3 separate regions of the Homo sapiens genome follow, and all the other regions are linked to region 1. The links are contacts of gene promoters, found by promoter capture Hi-C in human tissues and cell types (Jung and others, 2019). All regions are on one chromosome and are shown on one strand. The core of a region is centred on a gene start or on the middle of the fragment in contact, and the rest is flanking DNA. Distances in the headings are between cores, read along the strand shown.

The links. The method cuts DNA at HindIII sites, captures the fragments that hold promoters and counts their contacts. A contact is called where the count stands out against the background at its distance.
Region 2: a fragment that was not itself captured here is called in contact with the fragment with the promoter of FAT4 in region 1 in 1 of the 25 tissues and cell types used here (H1 embryonic stem cells).
Region 3: a fragment that was not itself captured here is called in contact with the fragment with the promoter of FAT4 in region 1 in 2 of the 25 tissues and cell types used here (H1 embryonic stem cells and stomach).

Annotation. Positions count from the first base shown.
Region 1 is chr4:125,313,396-125,316,530 of GRCh38, reverse strand. It overlaps FAT4 (FAT atypical cadherin 4), which reads right to left and starts at 1,576. Exons shown (of 18, transcript NM_001291303.3): 1 at 554-1,576; 2 at 1-131. The coding sequence starts at 119. The HindIII fragment of the contact is 10,793 bases long and covers 1-3,135 here.
Region 2 is chr4:125,900,645-125,903,779 of GRCh38, reverse strand. No RefSeq gene overlaps it. Among named protein-coding and RNA genes, the nearest start is that of LINC02379, 160 kb to the left of the region's middle. The HindIII fragment of the contact is 5,660 bases long and covers 1-3,135 here.
Region 3 is chr4:125,828,469-125,831,603 of GRCh38, reverse strand. No RefSeq gene overlaps it. Among named protein-coding and RNA genes, the nearest start is that of LINC02379, 230 kb to the left of the region's middle. The HindIII fragment of the contact is 6,615 bases long and covers 1-3,135 here.

The DNA of each region.
Region 1 (3,135 bases), core at 327-2,826:
ACCCAGGCCTGCCCCGGAAGCAATGACAGTAGCCAAAACACTCGAAGGAGCTGAGATACTGATAGAGTGTGCAACGGGAGCCACGGGCGGCCAGTAGCCCTGTCTGGTGCTAAGTCCATGGTCCTGGCTCCCTAAAACGATGTGATAAAGAGAAGGAAGGGGTGAAGCAAACGCAATGATATTTACAGGGATTAAGGAGCGCCAGCAAAGATTCAGCTGACGGCTTGGTCTGAGACCTCTGCTATTTCAAAGAACCTCCAGTCCGGCAAAAGCAAGTAGCATCAGCAAAAGACTCTAGGTAGCCAGTTGAACGCGGAGTGCAAGAGAGATGCTGTGGCGAAAAGCGGCAGGGCATTCCGCGGGACACTCCTGTGAGCTGAGTTCCCAGAAAAGTTTCTCAAGCCTCTTATATATGCCCCCTTTTACTTTGTTTTTGAATCCAGATAGTCTGAGCGTTTTCACCCGGGTGGATGAGAGTTGGGAGAAGTTGCCTGTATCTAAGGTATATGAGGAATCATTGCAAAGAACGGTCTTCAGAAACTTTAGAACTTACCCGCAGCGAAGAACGTGAAGAGGGAGGAACAAACGTCCAAGCACAACTGCGCACCGGGGAAGGGGTGGTGGGGAACCGGGAGAATCGAATTTCTTTCCCAAAAGCTGGAGGCGATGGAATTCCTGGAGTCCCCACTCCTCAAAAACCAGGCTGCAACGCCCCTCCAACAGGGCGCCGGCAGTGGCCGCTGAGGCCCAGGCGGCGGCGTCTGCGCGCAGGCAGTTCGGGAACTGCGTTCCAAGCGCTAGCGTTCGCGCTCTGGCTCCCGTACCCGGGAGCGCTCAACTCTGCCCCTTCCCCTCCTGCAGCCGCCGCCGCCGCCGCCCCTGTTGCGGCTTCAAGCCCGTGGTCCGGCACAAACAACAGCCAGGGCTCCTCGGCATTTTTCACCTCTGCCGGGGCGCCTGCCGACCCATTATTTGTACATCCAAATCGAACGCAGTTTCCCCTTTCTTCTCGGCCTCGCAGGGGTCGGGCAGAAACAGCGTGCGGTCCCCGAGTCGCCCTCCCCTCACCATGCCAGGGGGGGTCGTTCTCCGGCGGCCCCAGTCAGAAGCCCACTCTAGCGCGCCTCGCCCCTGCCCTCGCTATCTCTGCTTTTATTGTCCCGTGTCAGTTTCACTTTGTAATCCACAAGGCTTTTTGTTTGGGGCGGGGGGTGGTTGATGCCTCTCTCTCCTTCACAGTTGGCAGCGGAGGCGGCGAAGTCGGCGCTGGGCTGTAGTGACGCCCTCCGCAGCTCCGGACGGCGCCTGTCAGCGCTCTCCCTCTCGCCGGCCGGGGCCGAAGGTTGGACTGCGGTGGAGCTAGGGCTCCGCGAGCCCTTCTCCACCTCCCGCCTGGTCCCTCACACTCTCCCCGCCCCTTCCCCGCCGCACAGGCATGCACACACACACACATACACACGCACACACACACACACAGCGCGTCGCCGAAACACAAACAGAGGGGGAGGGAAGACCGCGAGCTGGAGCAGCACTCAGAAACTTTGCTCGACACTCATTGATCCCCGCACTTTAGTTCGCCTGGACTCCCCCTAGCTCCCAGTCCTGTCACCTTCTGCCCCTCCCTCGCCCCAGCCCCATTGGGCCGGAGCTGAAGCAGCCCCGACCGGCACTCCTACCGCGAGCGCCCTCCGCCTTGCCCGGCCTCCGACTGGCTTCTCGGGATGCTAATCACTTCAGCCTCCCGGAGGGCTGTAGGCGGTCTGGTGTGGGAGCACAGCGAGGCGGAGGCGCTAAAAAGGGGGGTGATTTTTTTTCTTTTCTTTTTTTTTTTTTTTTTTCCTTTTCGGCCAAATCTTGGCCGGCGTCAGAGCAATAACAGCAAAAGGCTGCCGCAGAATAGATGGGGGTGGGGTCAGGTTTGCAGATAAATAACTTTAGTGGCAGGGTCTGGGGGAAGACCGTTAGGTTGTTATGCTAGTAATAACTCAGGGGTAAGGGGGTCGAGAGAAATAAAAGAAAGGCGGGGGGTGAGGGTCTGTTAAAGCGGGGAGGAAGGATTAAGCAAAGCCTGTCTGGGAATGCACAGTGCAGATTTGCTTTAACCATTTCCTGCCCCTTCTCTCTTTATGCAAGGGATAGAGCTGCCATACAGTGTGATCCCACAGAATCCAAATCAAATCCTCCCCTTTGCTCCTCTTTCTACACAGTGGGCTCCCTGCTGTCTAGGGCGAGCTAAACTCTAAATCTTCACTCACTTGCCCCTCTCCCCCACCTTCCAGGTGACTAGGGGGCAGGAGGCCTCCGTAGCAAGGGCACTTTGGACTTCCTACTATAGGAAAGGCCAGGGGAACTCAGTGTTTGTTTTGTTTTCTTTCCCAACTGGATTCCAGGTGCCAGTAGCCCAAACCTTAGGGTTTCAACAACAATAATAATGGCAGCCCTTTGAAAAGAGGGAGATCTTTTCCTGTTGCAAAGTTAGTTTGGAATTTTGATCCCTGATGGAGTATTTCCACCTCCACATTTTTTAGTCAAAGGAAACCTAATAAAGTTTTATTTTGCTTTTCAGTCTGGGAGAAATAGATACGAGAAAGTAGAAATAAATAAAATAATATTTAAGCTTAAGTTTTTAAAAATACCCACATGCCACTTAATGCACTCAGATCAACTCACCCACTATTCACTGCAGTTAATTTTTGTGGTGGCATGCATCGTTTCTTTAAAAGAAGAAAAACGTTACTAGGAATCAGATCGATATTTTTCCCCTTTAAGGGAACCAACCTAGAAAATAAGAATTCAAGCCAAACAATGCAAATACAGGGCATATGTCATACATTTCTGCCACAAGGATCCCTCACAAACGTAAAACTTTCTGCGCCCAGAGAGGGTTCAGTCATGAGTAAATACTGCCCTCTGCTGTTCTACGTCAGTCTTACATCTTTAGTCTCCTGGTTTCTTGCTTAAAATTAAATGCAGAGACTAAAAGGATCGGATTACAAGGCTAATTCCTGCTTCTTGCCTAGGGATAGCAGCAAAGAAAACGATCTCTAAGACTTTCCTAGTGCCTTTCTTATTTAGAGTAAAAAAAAAAAAATCAAGAATAGTAGGACAGACAGCAAATTCAAGTCTTGATGATGC
Region 2 (3,135 bases), core at 380-2,879, 590 kb before region 1:
TTTAAAATCATCTTACTAATAAAATATCAGAGTTTGCTAATGAAGACCACCATGGAGCTATGTGAATAAAGGTATGTGGTTTTATTTAACTTTTCATTCTATAAAACAATTGCTGATCATGTATAAAATTATACTAGGAAAGGATATGTGATAGACTCCAATAGATCTAGCTTAAAATATTTTATTAAAGATATCAAATAAATTGTAATTACATGAGGTAATGTATTTTGCCAAATAAGTAGAGGACAAGCCACACCCCTACTGCAGATAAGAAGATAAAATTATCAGTATAAAATGTTTTATATTACTGTATGTGTAATACAATCCAATTTTTTTAAAGTACTACAACATTTGGAAAAATGTATCTTTCCACCGTATAATCAGGCACTAATCTCATATAGAGATTCTTGTAGCATAATTAACCACAAAATGAAGATTCCAAAAGTACTTAGCTCAGATCAACAAAACATCATAAAGAAACTTTGTACATGATATTGTATATTTTGAGATCACACTTAAATGTAATCTTTAAAATTATTTCTCTTTCTATTCCTTTGATGTCTTTGACCTTGTTACATTTTGTTTCTTTTAAATGTTTTCTTGCCATCCATTACTTAGTTAAATCCTTATCTTTTACTATTCTTTCAGGGTGTCTTCCATCAATGCTTTTCTGCAAGGAAATGGCATCTAACAGTATCTAATGACAAGAAAAATATGGTTGATGAATCCAAAGATGCTTTTACAAATAAATGAGTAAAGGAAAAGTGAATAAATGCATGACATTGAAAATTTTCAAAAGCACATTAACTTTCAATGATTTAATCTAAAAGCATGGAAATAATAACGATCAGGACTATGTTTGGGGATCACCAACCATAAAAATAAGCAGTAATAAAAATTAGTCAGTTGGTTATTTTTACTAACTAGCTTTCATAAATCATTTGATGTCATTACCTGATTCTTGTTTTACATATCCAAGGGACATGCATAGGAGGGCCAAACAAGGTCATGGCTGATGCTGAAATCAATATTAACAGTCCTGAAAGGCTTGCTCATCTCTGTACTATCCAGGCATTATTAAACTACTGGGATGATAGCAATGTTGATGATGACTATGATGATGATGACGATGATGATGACAATTAAATATAAAGTGAGTGACTTTCATTTTGGAATTTGAAAGACTCCTAGAATTGATGTGTTTGTAAGCTGGCAAGAGGAAGTAAGAACTTTAAATTGCCCCATATGATCAAGTTTAAATGAATGATTTAAACTGGTACTTCAGGTTGTGATGGAGTAGTAAATGGTGAGGGGAAATATAACCCAAGTAATGAAGAAACATTCAAGCTTTACAGAAATTGACCCAGGATGGCTTCATCCATATCATTTTGCCTGTTAGTAATTAGAAGATCACATTGATGCTCTTCCCAACAGATCTGTCCATATTTGAACCACTTTCCAAGTGTTTCAGTGCTGACTTTTGTGATTTAATGGTTTACTTTTCCCTCCTCATTGCACAGGATGAAAGAAGGCAGAATCACTGGCTAATGGAGTTTGATAGCCATTTATCTAAGGCAAACTTGGACCAGATTTAACTGTTCTTACTCTGCTTATCATGATGTGAAAAGCTTTGGGACTGAACACTTTTTTTTCTTTAGTAAATGGTTATAATTATATTTCAATGACCTTTTAAACATCTACTTATCTACTTACATACGAAATTACAAAACTGAAGCATGAGATTTTTTCAATCCATTTCTTGAGACTAGAATTATTCCCACTGTGGTGTGAATCAGAGCATGGTTATGATCATTTAAACATACCAAATTGCACAATTATTTTTACAATCCCACAGCGCTGATCTCTTTCTACTCTTGTCTTCTCAATGTAAATTTCTTCTCTTTGCCATTTAAGAAGTGGAAGACAAGTATAAAGAAATATAAATGAATAAATGCAATACATACCTGCTATTTTAGATACCTTTACAAAGTGTATTCCTTCTTTGTTTCATCCACACATTCAAATACTTAAAAGAATGCCTAATCTGCACCTGGCAATATCATAGGCACTGGGGATATGGCATAAGCAAGATAAATCATTGTCATTGTAAAACAGATGATAATAAGCAGAGATTAAAAAAACTTGTAAGCAACAATTATTTCAGATAAGGATAATCAACAGAGAGAAAATAAAACACAATAATGCAGAAAAGCACATGTTTGTATGGCAAGGGCAAAGAGAACATGAGGAGCATCTCTAATTAGAGCACACAGCAGAGGCTAAGCCAAGGACATGACATTTAAGCTAGTACAGATGCAATCTCAAAATAATTAATAATATCATAATGTGATGTTGAAAACATTTATTTGAAATTAAATAAAATGCTTCAATGAATACTTTTAATACTTAAGTACACTAAAAAGCAAAAGTATCACTTGTAAAAGGAGGGAAAATCTTTAAATTTATTTTTATGTTTGGAAAGTAGCACCAAGATTGTTACATATACGAAGTGAAAATTAATATAATTTGACACTATAGTGATATAAAATATTGTATTTTTCCTTGTCTCTTTGAACAACTTTATCACATATAATGCCAAAAATGACAAAATCCCAAGGGAAAGGGTAGGCTTCTATTTTAAAGATGATTCATGTATCTATAATATTTGGAAAATATGAAATTAGGGTGAGATCAGAAATATGTAGAAGTATGAATCTCTTGATTACATAAGAATGCTAAATACTGCCTTAGGTCATATACGGTAGACTTTTTACAAAAATACACTGGAAACTGTTACTAAATTCTTATCACTTTTGTGAAGCCAGCTGTCAACTTGAGATCTGGTAACAGATATCTATAGGTTTCTAATTGTTGCCAGCGAAATCACCCTGTTATGTTTGGATGTGTGTGCCTTCCAAATCTCATGTGCTCCCCAGTGTTGGAGGTGGGGCCTAGTGGGAAGTGTTAGATAATGGGGAAGGATTGCTCCTGAATGGCTTAGCTCCATACCCTCGATGATGAGTGAATTCTTGCTCTGTTAGTTTACAGGAGAACTGTTTGTTTAAAAGGATCCTGGCACTTCCTCCTCTCTCTCTTGCTCCCTCTCTTACCATGTGACATGCTGGCTCCCGTTCA
Region 3 (3,135 bases), core at 218-2,717, 520 kb before region 1:
GAAAAATGTATTGCATATATCATAAATGCAAACATAATACAATTCATCAAATATGACATTTATTTTCTAGGGATGTACACACAATGGAGAGTTGTTGAGAAGAAAAATTAAAAACTCGAGCTCAAACTCCAGATAAGCAAAAAATTCCAAATCTTTTTTGTTGGCTGGGAAAGTTCACATTACAGTATAACTATTGTTGTTCTGACTAATTACTGCTGTCAATGTCAGTAGGAAGGCTATCCATTAAACAGCTGGAAAGAACACTCCCCTTCTCTTTCAGTGGAACTGAAAAAATATCATTGGAAGCAAAAATTTAAGAAATCAACTGAAAACAAGCAACTCAGAAGTTTTCTCTGGCAAATAAATTAATAAGAAACATATTTTTTAAAAATTTGTTTGCTCTTATACTAGTTGGTGAAGTAGCAATAATGACAAAGTAGTAAACTGATCCCAATCACAAAGCCATTACAAACAAGCTCTTTAAATTTGCTTCAATTCTAGTTCATTCAAAAAGCATGATTCTCTGCCACCTCATTTTACCTTTGAAAAATGTCACGTTATATTTTTCAAGTGAGTTCTAATAAGCCAGCCAACAGCTCACTAATACGTATTGTATATTTTGGAATTTAAAGCATGAAGTCAGCAAGGGATTGCTGTTGGGTTAAGAAAAATAAGTTATTTCAGATTAAGACTCTAATTAGATAAAAATCACTAGGAAAATAAGTAATCTGGTAATGTCAGCTAAATTTACAAAGGCTTATATTCATCTTTAACTCAAAAGTTGTGTGAATAATGGCAAGCTAAAATGAAAAATTGAGTCAATTATTTAGACAATTCAAGTCTAAAATTACTGCTATTTAAGAAGCGAATATTTAGCTAACGGGGTCATGATTTATATAAATAAACAATCAATATTGACCAATTAACAGCCTTTTCCATTTCACTGGAAATATACAGCACTATCTTAATGATTTTCATGGGAACATATTAGATTTCCTTTATGTTAAATGAAAACCACAAAAGGTTTCATAAACCAAACAAAAGAAAACTAAATAGTTCATTGTATACCTTTGCTCCTAACAAGATAGAAGTAAACAGGACCCAACATGTGTGGAATTAGGTTGAATTCTGAATATCTACCTTTAACTACACATTTTTTAAGCTTAAAAAAGACCTCTCATTTCTCTATACATTTCTTAAATTACAAAGCCCCTAATAAATGGTAATTTTTATATAACTATTGTTTAAAGTGAACTTAAAATAAAACTGAGTTAAAACAAACATTGCCATATTTTACTCATGTTGTTTTTCTCAATGTTTGCCTCCTTTTTTCACTGATTTACTTTCTTTCAAAATTGGATAGAGGTGATAGCCATTTATTATGATACTTTTATTGAAACATATTGATGCTAAAATTGCCATAACTAAATATTTGCATTAAATTTATTTTAATGTATAACTGCCAGAGTGTTTAATGTACAACTTAAGTTCTCTTCATGATTATCCTGTGAAATATATACTTCAACTTGTCAAATTAACTTATTGAAATTTAGAGAGGTGAGATAGTTCTCTTTTAGCCAGATACCTAGACATGTTGGAGCTGGGATTTCATTCTGTTATGCTTAACCATTATGCTTATTTATGTAATTTCTAATTGTTGAGTTAAAGTATTATAAAGAGCAAGCTAAATAAGCGTGTATGAAAATAGCATGATTTGAGGGGTGCATTTGTAACAAGAAGGTGGCTAGCTGAATCCTGAAGCTATGCTGGGCCTCAGCTGTTAGCTTTAGATTGAGATTCACTTCATTCTTTAAGCTATACATTAAAATAAATTAGGGTCATGGTTCTCAAACTCACCTACATCTGAATGACCTGGCAGCTTAAATAAAATGCCAGAGTTTGTAAAAATAAATATATTTTAAAACAATGGTTAAAAGACATAAGACAATATTATCTGCTTTCTGCTACTTAGGGATTAGAGAATTGCATGATATAGAACACCCTGCCCTGCATACTTCTCCTACTCCCTCTTTGTCCACTATATTCCAGCCAAAATGGACTTTCCATGATTTCCCAAACAGGTCAAGACCGTTCTTCCTGAGAGCTTCTACCCGGGTGATCTTTTCCTTTATCCTTGCATGGCTGTTCCCACTCCCTCCCTTCACCCTTCTTCTTTTTCCAGTTTTTATTCTATTTCTATTCCTTTCCACTTCTTCCCACCTCTTTTTCTTTCCTCCTCTCTCCTCATCATCATCCTGTCCTCCCACTTTACTTCCTTTCTTGTGTTGCTCCATCTTTTCTTTCTCCCTCCTTTGCTCCCCTCTTCAGGCCTCCTTTCCCAGCTCTACCACTTCCTCCTTCTTCTCCCCTAATCTCTCTTCACCTCTCTCAACTCCTTGATCTTCTTCTCCAACATATTCCAATTTTTCTTTACAAGTGATGAAATGGACAGCTAAAAAGAGTAGTTTCTGGGCTCTTCCCAAAACATTATCTGAAAGGATTAAGCCATATTTTCTAGTTTCTTTACCAGAATATATGTTAGTACAATTAGTACAAGTAAATTAATAATTTTGTATCCTATATTTTGTTGGATATTAGTATTAACACTGGAAACTATCCTTTTTATTATCTTCTAGTCCTTACATGTTAACCCTAATTAAGGAACCAGCCAGCCTGTATGCTGAAGAATTCACCAAGTTTAAGTTGAAATTTTGTATTTCAGCCACCAGGAAGTTTACCTCTTAGAAGAGGCTTATAAATGCATTAGTTATATATTATACACAAATTTCAGTATTAATACAACTTTTCTAGCAGATATTGCAAAGATTCTCTACCAATTGCATGAATCCAGTGAGACAGAACATTCTCTGAACAAGTTAGTCAAAGCAAATTTATTACCCACAGAAAGGCAGAAAGGATAAACCAAGCTTAACATCCATAGCGGGCTGGTTCCCCAAGGCTTAGCAAAGCTGCCCAGGAAAAATGAAGTTTAGTCTGTGTGTGCCGTTCATTGCATGACAGCTGAAAAACCTCAAAAGCACTCAGCTTTGGGTTTGCATAGACTGAGCACCACTTGTCTCACAGAGCTCAAGCTTTGTAGAACATTCTATTCTGGGAGGAGCAAAGACCCAGCCT